Regions from separate parts of the Homo sapiens genome. Here region 1 is linked to region 2. Evidence: promoter capture Hi-C in 16 types of primary human blood cells and fetal thymus (Javierre and others, 2016). All regions are on one chromosome and are shown on one strand. Each heading gives the region's core, a stretch centred on a gene start or on the middle of the fragment in contact. The rest is flanking DNA. Distances are from core to core; before and after follow the strand shown.

Region 1 (4,304 bases), core at 783-3,282, 52 kb after region 2:
TGTAGGTGACTTCAGTATGGACACTTCTCCGCAGAGGGCCTTTTATATGCCTCAGTGAATCAGAACATAGCGTGCCCCTGCAAAAATATCTCTAAAGGCCTTTCATTGTGCTGAGAAGTTCTGGCCCTTACGTATCTCTCTGATTTCATATCCTGCTACTCTCCTCCATTTATCTATAATGCTCAAACTCTGCTGGCTTTTTGTCTTTTAAAATGCAGCAGGTTTCTTCTCACAATAAGGCCCTGGCCTCTGCACTTACTGATTTCTCTTTCTTAAAATAATACCAGGAATATTTGACTCATTTTCTATTTCAATTGAAATGTTCACTTCCCAGAGAGACTTTTAATGGCCACCTTATATTAATTAGTCTACCTCCAGTAACTGAACTTAATGTAACTCACTGAGTTTTATTATTCTCACAGGATTCTTCACTGTTAGAATCTATTTCATTCATTTTTAAAATCAGTCTCTCTATCCCTTCTGTCTCATTGTAACCTGCAGAAAGTAGAGACTTTGTCTATTTTGTTCATCTGCTCAATCTGCATTTCTTATAACGGTGCCTGATACAGCAGATTCTTAATAAAGATTTGATGAATTAGTGAAAAAATAACCAAATGAATGACATGATGCAACTTTCTATACTCAAATTCTGTGTAGAATAATCACAATCTTTGTTCTATGCTTGGGGTAACTGGGGATAAATTCATGTACTCTGGGATCCTTTTGGATCATATGCAAACCAGTGGAGGAATTTATCATGGTGATTTTTTTCTGGTTTGAGAATCCATGCCTTTTCCGATTGTTAAGGTGGTGGTATATATCCACTAAAGTTTATGAACTACTGTGTGCAGTTCCGAAATTCTGACTAAATGTTCTACTTGCCTCTTATTGATATGATACTTTGCCAGTCTCACATTGATCTACAAAGTATGATCCCTAGGTTGATCATTGGTAGTTCTGCTACATTTAAGAGTAGCAAATGAATTAATATGTACTATTATTTGTTTATATTTTATTCTAATTGCTTTATCATAATAAATGACTAATAATTCATTAATAATATTTAATAAGTGGATGGAATAAACGTGACAAATTATCACAGGGAGCTTCATAGAAAGTCAGCTCTCATAATTAAGGCTATCACCAGAATGCATTTGGGCCAGAAATGTGGTTTGCTGATGTTATTCTATCCAAGTCACCACTTTAAAAAATAGTAACAGGAATTCTGCTAGAAGATGAAAAGTATTTTTACAATACTTTTGGAAATTTGGAATTAATATATTTTAAAATAAGCAAATTCATTAAATATAAAAAGAAGGTAAAATATGTGAATATTATGTGTCAGGAGAGGAAAACATGAATTTTGAGATACGGTGGGTAATTGTTTCTAATTGCTTTCTCAGATGCAAAGAGAACACCACAACTAATAATATAACCAAAGTGAGGATGATGGAAGAGAAAAAACTTTACTACTCCAAGAACATAAGCTACATATGAACTTGGAAGAAAATTTTTAGTCCCATTGATTAAGAAATAAATTAGTCAAAACATACAGGCATATTTGCAAGTAAATAAAGACATTTTCATCGGCTTCCTCACTGCATAGCCAACCTTCCCTAACCATTCCTGGCCACTCTGTGGTTTAAGGACTGCATTTATGGAGGTAGAGGAGGATATTGAAAAAGAAAAAAGAAATGTTTCAAGAGGCAGGAAATATAAGCTTAATGTGATCACAGAGAAGCTAATCATCAAGTTTAAATTGGGATTTTAAGTAAGCAAAAGCCACAAAATTAAGAGAATATCTCCTTAAGGCTCATGATTTTACTTGTTGGCATCCTGACACATAGCAATATTAATATTTTCCTGGACATATGGCTAAGAGATTCTTGAGGGTTTTTTTAATCTTAATGCAAATTAGTTGTGAGAATGAGTCCAATGTAGATTGTGGTTTCCTTCACATATAACTCAGGTTGGATAAAATAATTTGTACAAATCAGGAGAGTCAAATTTCAGAAACTACTATCTGCCTCAATTGAACTCCATCTTCTGACACCATGTGCTACTACCACAACTATTATGGTAGCCTGGACTATGGTTGCAGCTATGGCTCTGAATATGGTAACTCTGGATATGCCTGCAACTTTCCGTGCTCCTATGGAAGATTCCTATTGGCTCCTAGAAAGAAATTCTGATTGCTGATCACTTTGAGCCATTTTCTTGTGATGCACTAATTGCATCAACAGGGTTATTTATGGATTCGTTATTGTCTCTCCAATTTTAACTAACTCTAATTATTGATTACCACAGGTCATATTTGCATTGGATTAGTGGAATTTCCTACCAGTTAGTGGGAAAATCCTTTGATATTTTGTTAGTTTTATGTGTTTATGTCTGTTATAATATTAACAATTTCCATGCAGGAAAACTTATAAATTTGCATTTTAATAAATATAATCACTTTCACAATATGTATTGCTTATCATATATATTCATTTCTCTTTATCATTTGTGTATTTGTGTGTGTGTGTGTGTGTGTGTGTGTGTGTGAAAGAGAGAGAGAGAGAGAAAGGGAGAAATAGAAAGAGAGAGTGAAATTGCTACCTGTGGCTATTTTAGTCAGTGATGTGACAAAACAGGCAACTCATGACTGATGTTTTTCCAAAAATGTTTGTATAAAAGTAATTTCAAGTTCAGTTTCAAGAATACTGTTCTCTATATTGATCTAATGCAAGTTTCATTTTAGAAAAATTCAATGTTTGACCTAGGTAATTGGCAAAACCAGTAGCACTATTACCCACCAAGCTATTTTCTACTGCAATTTTCTCTCTCCTAATAGTCTACATTTAAACATGTGCTTCTGTACTGATACAACTCCAGCCCTGCATTGAGTACTCTGACCTCTTTTCACTCACTCTTATAGATAAGAATCCTCTATATGAAGCTGGTTGGTATGCCTGATAATCCTGTGTTTCCACAGCAAAGATCACCTCATTTAGAGATCTAAGTGACTCTTTTGAGTTTTTCTAACTCTGATCATCTTCTAGCAGAATTCCTGTTACTATTTTTTAAAGTGGTGACTTGGATAGAATAACATCTTGCAAACCACATTTCTGGCCCAAATGCATTCTGGTGATAGGTCTTAATTATGAGAGCTGACTTTCTATGAAACTCCCTGTGATAATTTATCATGTTTATTCCATCCACTTATTAAATATTATTAATGATTAGTCATTAATTATGATAAAGCAATCAGAATAAAATATAAACAGATAATAGTACATATTAATTCATTTGCTACTCTTAAATGTAGCAGAACTACCAACGATCAACGTAGGGATCACACTTTATAGATCAATATGAGACTAGTGAAGTATCTCCCAGCCCCCAAGTGCAGGCTTTCTGAAAGCAAACGGAAGTGAAAATACTGTATTGCTGTCTATTCCTTCCTCCCTGGAGTGAAAAAGTCAATCCATTAGCAGTTCCAACCCAACTTGCCCAACCAGTGACTGGGCAGAGAAGTTGGTGATCATTCCTCTGGTGAAAAATGAAAATAAGAGGGAAGTGATTCCATTTTTACTAAGATATAGGTTGGGGCTCTGCTCATTATTTGCATAAATTATCCCATTTAATGGATTAACAAATTTAAAGGTTAAACATTTTAATTTCTATTGCAGTCATGCCAAATTAAATCAACTTTTAGAAAGGTAAAGCTGAAAGATTCTTGGTGAGATTGTGCAGGATTGAAAATTTGTGTTTAGTCCTGTACACAGTTCTGATTCTCAATACAAGTTAGTGCTCTAGAATGACGGAGGTTGCTATATTTTGTATAGTATTTCATAATTATTAACTTATTGTGCAAATGGGTATCAATGCTTTCATTATGGCAGTTTGGAACACCAGATTTAAAAATCAATAAAAAATTATGTATCAAAAATGAAACAACATGCATATCGGTACAAAATATACTCATCATATGTTGTTATTTATTTAGTTATGGGAAGTTCAAAAAAAGAACAAACTAATCAGTAATAAAAGTGAGAATAGTGGTACCTCTGGGCAGGAGAGTATTGGATAAGAAAGGGCACAGTGGAATCTTCTGGGTGGAGGAAATGTTTTGTATTTTGATCTAGCTAATGGTTATATGAGTGTATACATATATAAAAATCCATTAAGTTGTATATGTAGGATTAGTGCACTTTACTATATACATATTAGGAATGAATTAAAAACTGAAACAGTGAAATGAGATGAGAGATTTAAAACTACGGCACTATCATAGGACAGAAAATTAATTAATACAGAAA
Region 2 (4,815 bases), core at 2,044-4,543:
GCTGAACATCTTACATCTTAGACTTGATGGAATATCTCTGACATGGCCAGTGTACAAAAGTTAAAAAAGATTTTCTGTGATCCAACTCTGAGTAGCACATACATAGAATTCTTCAGCAGAAAACATAAGCAGGTACCTTATAATAAACTTCAAATGGGCATTCTACAAGGAGAAGCACATAGCTACTATTCTAATAGATCACAAGGGTTAGACCTTAAAGCTTCATCAGGTAGAAAACATATTGGCTTTTGTTTGCAAATTCTGGGAATTTTCTGCTTCATTTTGTTCAAATGGCCATATCTGGACCCATCAACTCCTGTCAGGGCATGAAGATCATACTCAAAATTGCTGCTCCCATGGCAATCATGTGGATGGAGTTTAGGGTCCATACCAACACATGGAGGACTGGAGAGACTCTCCCATACCTAAGCACTAAGGCCTCTGTTGCTTTACTGTGATTGCATTTATGATATTTTGTCAACCCCTCTTGATGTTAACCTTTGTGAAGGCAGGGAACATGCCAATACTACTGACCGTGTAATTGTCAGCATCTAGCTCAGCGTCAGAATTTACGTTATTACTCTAGAAATCCTTTCTGAAAAAATCCATGTTTGAAGAGAGGAAGATTAAGAAGTTTCTCTTCCCAGAAAGTTGGTGGGCCCTTGATTTTCCTGCCATGACTCCCTTTTCATTTCCTTTTTAACTTTTATCTGCTCCTTCCCTGATTTGCAAACACCTTTTTTTTTAATTCACCTATAATTATTGGAATACTCTATGATATGGTTTGGCCTTGTTCCCCCTCCCCAAATCTCATCTTGAATTGCAGTTCCCATAATCCTCAGGTGGCATGGGAGGGACCCAGAGAGAGGTAATTGAATCATGGGGTGGTTACCCTCATGCTGCTGTTCTCCTGAGAGCGAGTACTTTCTCACGACTTCTGATGGTTTTATAAGGGGATTTTCCCCCTTGTGCTCATTCTTCTCCTTCTTGCTGCCTTGTGAAGAAGGACGTGACTTCTTCCGCTTCTGCCATGATTGTAAGTTTCCTGAGGCCTCCCCAGGTATGTAGAACTGTCAGTTAATTAAACCTGTTTCCTTTATAAATTACCCAGTCTTGGATATTTCTTCAGATCAGAGTGAGAACGGACTAATACACTGTATTTCTGAAGTTACGACGAACTTTATCCAATTATTTTCTATATTTAAAACTCAGTTTTCTCCTGAGTTGTAGATTTTTGTAACAACCTGCCAGGAAAAATCTTTATTTGGCCCTCCCACAGATGACATTTACGTGTACTCAAGTAAACTTTTGCGGCTCCACTTTGATTGTCCCCCAAATGTTCCGATTCCCGTATCACATGTGCCATTAGTTCCACAGTCAGTCGTTGACTGTTCAAGTCCTTGTTTATTTTGTGCTCTGTTTTATTCCTTAGCCCCCTCCATTCTCATACCACATGGGCATGTTCTTTAACTTCTATCCCATAATAATCTATTTGATCTAGGCCTTCATAGGAATCTTAGTTGCCGCTTTTACATTAAGACCTTGCATTGGCTGCTTACACAGCCTCCAGAATGGTCGTTTGGTCTGTGGTCATACTCCTTGGCCACCTTTCCTTCAATTGGATGCCATAATTATTTGTATAAAACATGCGCTTCTTATTTTTATTTTATTTTTCCATGAGTTATTGGGGTACAGTTGGTATTTGATTACATGAGTAGGTTCTTTAGTGGTGATTTGTGAGATTTTGGTGCACCTGTCACCCAAGCAGTATACACTGCACCATATTTGTAGTCTTTTATCCCTCACCTCCTTCTCACCCTTCCCCCCACATTCCCAAAGTCCATTGTATCATTCTTATACTTTTGCATCCTCATAGTTTAGCTCCCACATATCAGTGAGAACATACGATGTTTGGTTTTCCATTCCTGAGTTACTTCACTTAGAATAATAGTTTCCAATCTCATCCAGGTAAAGGAAAATATTACAACTTTATAAAACATTATCCAGTACACCCATTGCAAAATATATATGGCCTTGATGTTCTAGTTTCTCTTCACTGCCCAGGGCTTCATTTCCTGCCAGTGACTTTGCCCACTGTTCTCTCAAGAAATAACATCAATTTATGACTTTGCAGTGCAATACTTTTTTCATGGCTTTGCATATTTGTTTCCCCTGCCTGGCATACACTTTACCTCCAATGTATTTTTCGTTGGTTAAAAATTTATTCAAATGTAACCTTCAATGAGAATATTTTTGATCTGTTTGCTCTACAATCTCGCTCTTTTGCATCCAAACATGAGCTTCTCCTCTGTGTTCCTACGTGGCTATTACATCACCTATCATGTTGTAGCATACATGTTTATTTAAACATTTGTTTTTCTGCTTAAAAACTCTTCTCCCATAAGTAACACTAAGACTTAACAGGAAGCCCTATATAGAAATTACTTAATGAGGACTTATTAAACAAGTGAGTAATTAATAAATTTAAAAAATGAATGACATTGGCCTGGCCAAAGTAAGTTTAATTAAAAATAAACCTAGAGCTCCCTACTCCTGAAACATATCAAAAAGTAATTTGCTTGGTAAATTATGAAAACACATCAGTTTGGAAGAGAAAAATGTAGTTAATCTGGGGCACTGATGTGGATTTAGTGTGAATTTAATGATGTGTGTTCTTTGCCTAGAATTAGATTGAATAACTAAGCATTATTTTTGTTTTTTTGAGATGGAATCTCATTTTGTTGCTCAGGCTGGAGTGCAGTGGTGCCATCTCGGCTGACTGCAACCTCTGCCTTTGGGTTCAAGTGATCCTCCTGCCTCAGCCTCCCCAGTAGCTGGGGCTACAGGCACCCACCACCACACCTGGCTATTTTTTTAACTTTTAGTAGAGATGGGATTTTGCCATGTTGGCCAGGCTGGTCTCGAACTCCTAACCCCAGGTGATCCACCCGCCTCGGCCTCCTAAAGTGCTGGGATTATAGGGAATCATTAAGAATTCTAATTGGGTTAAACAAATTAAAAAAAGTGTAGTAGAACAGCACCCCTGTCTCATAAGAAAATGGACCCAATTGTAGATATTATTCAGTCAGTGCCTGATAATAAGCATGTAGCATAATCATATTGGTGGCAGCAGTCAAATCCATACCCCACCACAGCCACATCTGTAGCCACAGTCCAGGATTCTAAAGGCACCAAAGCCAGAGGTATAACTATATTTACAGTCATAGCCATAGCCCAGTCCTCCGTAGTAGTTGCCATAGTAGCTCATTGTGTCAGGATTTAAGTCTCTAGCCTGAGAGGCCAGCATAAGTTTTAGTGCATAAAAACACTAAAATACTGGGTCTTTTATCAGTCTCAGTGGAGGTGTGACAAACCACAGGCACTCCTGACATTGTCATATAGACCAACCTGTATTTAAAAATCTCATTAATCTTGTATCTTTAGATTTTAAAAAAAGACTCCCTATCCTGATAAAATTGAGATTTTCTTCTCAGTATGTTATGATCCTGCCAAACAGCTGATAGACTTTAAAGGAAAAAAAAATACTGAGTTCCATGACCTTACTCACACTGATGCCGAATTTAACCTTTGTAGCTATGTTGGATGACATCACGTGGAGGAGGCAAATGCCATCCTCTTCCGATCACTTTGCTAATAATACCCTTCTTCTTATATGCATATTTAAATCTTAATCAACACAGCTGTGATGTTATCGCTATAAAACTTAGTAGCAAATACAGTGGACTCTTGAATACCATGAGTTTGAACTGCACAGATACGCTTATATTAAGCAGATTTTCTTCACCTCTGCCACTCCGGCAGCAAGACCAACCCCTCCTCCTCCTTCTCCTCCTCAACCTACTCAACATGAAGACAATAAGGCTGAAGACCTTTATGATGATCCACTTCCACTTAGTGAATAGTAAATCCATTTTCTCTTTTTCTTTATTTTCTTAATAAAATTTTCTTTTCTTTAGCCTACTTTATTATAGGAGTATAATCTCTCATTACAGGTAACATAAGCATGTATTAATCAACTGTTTATGTTATTGGTAAGGCTTCTGGTCAACAGTAGGCTATTAGTAGTTAAGTTTTTGGGGAGTCAAAAGTTATACTCAGATTTTCAACTGCGTGGAGGTTGGCACTCCTAATCCCTGCATTGTTCAAGGATCAACTGTGATTTATTCTGTACAAACTCCCACCAATCACATATTATTCTGTAGTTTTCCTATTGCTATGCTCTCTTAAAAGTAGTGCCCTTTTCTTGCCTGTTTAGTTCCTTCTTCTCCACACCTTAAGCATTCTTTAAAAAGTTGTTTGGTTGATTATCTTGTACCTGCACTGCAATGTAGATATGTTTCTTCGGAGAAAAGAAAAGCATTGAGAATCTTATCTGATTCCAAAGTCACAGGAACGTAAAGTAGACATTTTTGAGACCCAAATATAACAGAAGGCATGACTATTAATTTTTCTGTAGGGATATTGACTCTGTCTGTATCATGTACTTATATGTAGACTTAAGTTCTCAAAGGCAGGCTGAATCTAGATACTATCATTTCTTAAGATGATTAAAAATAATTGAAAATTTTCCTTCACCACTGACCTTTAGGGTAATCCCCGATTTGATCTGTTGTACTTCAGTCATCCACTTTTAGGCAGTGCTACCATATTGGCAGAACCATCTATAATCCAGGACTAATTTTTCCTTCTCCAACTGGAAAATCAGCATAAATTCATAGGTGTATGTTGAGAAAGAAGAGACAACTCAGCAGAGAGGAAACCATGAGAATCCAAGCCAATTGCTTCTGTAAGTTG

What was found. The method cuts DNA at HindIII sites, captures the fragments that hold promoters and counts their contacts. A CHiCAGO score of 5 or more calls a contact.
Region 1: the fragment with the promoter of KRTAP22-2 here is called in contact with the fragment with the promoter of KRTAP20-3 in region 2 in 6 of 17 cell types (neutrophils, total B cells, naive B cells and 3 more); the score reaches 11.4 in neutrophils.

What each region holds. Positions count from the first base shown.
Region 1 is chr21:30,588,125-30,592,428 of GRCh38, reverse strand. KRTAP22-2 (keratin associated protein 22-2) reads left to right here and starts at 2,032. Exons shown (of 1, transcript NM_001164434.1): 1 at 2,032-2,324. The coding sequence starts at 2,055. The coding sequence ends at 2,192. The HindIII fragment of the contact is 4,540 bases long and covers 1,723-4,304 here.
Region 2 is chr21:30,641,342-30,646,156 of GRCh38, reverse strand. It overlaps KRTAP20-3 (keratin associated protein 20-3), which reads right to left and starts at 3,293. Exons shown (of 1, transcript NM_001128077.1): 1 at 3,021-3,293. The coding sequence starts at 3,268. The coding sequence ends at 3,134. The HindIII fragment of the contact is 10,269 bases long and covers 223-4,815 here.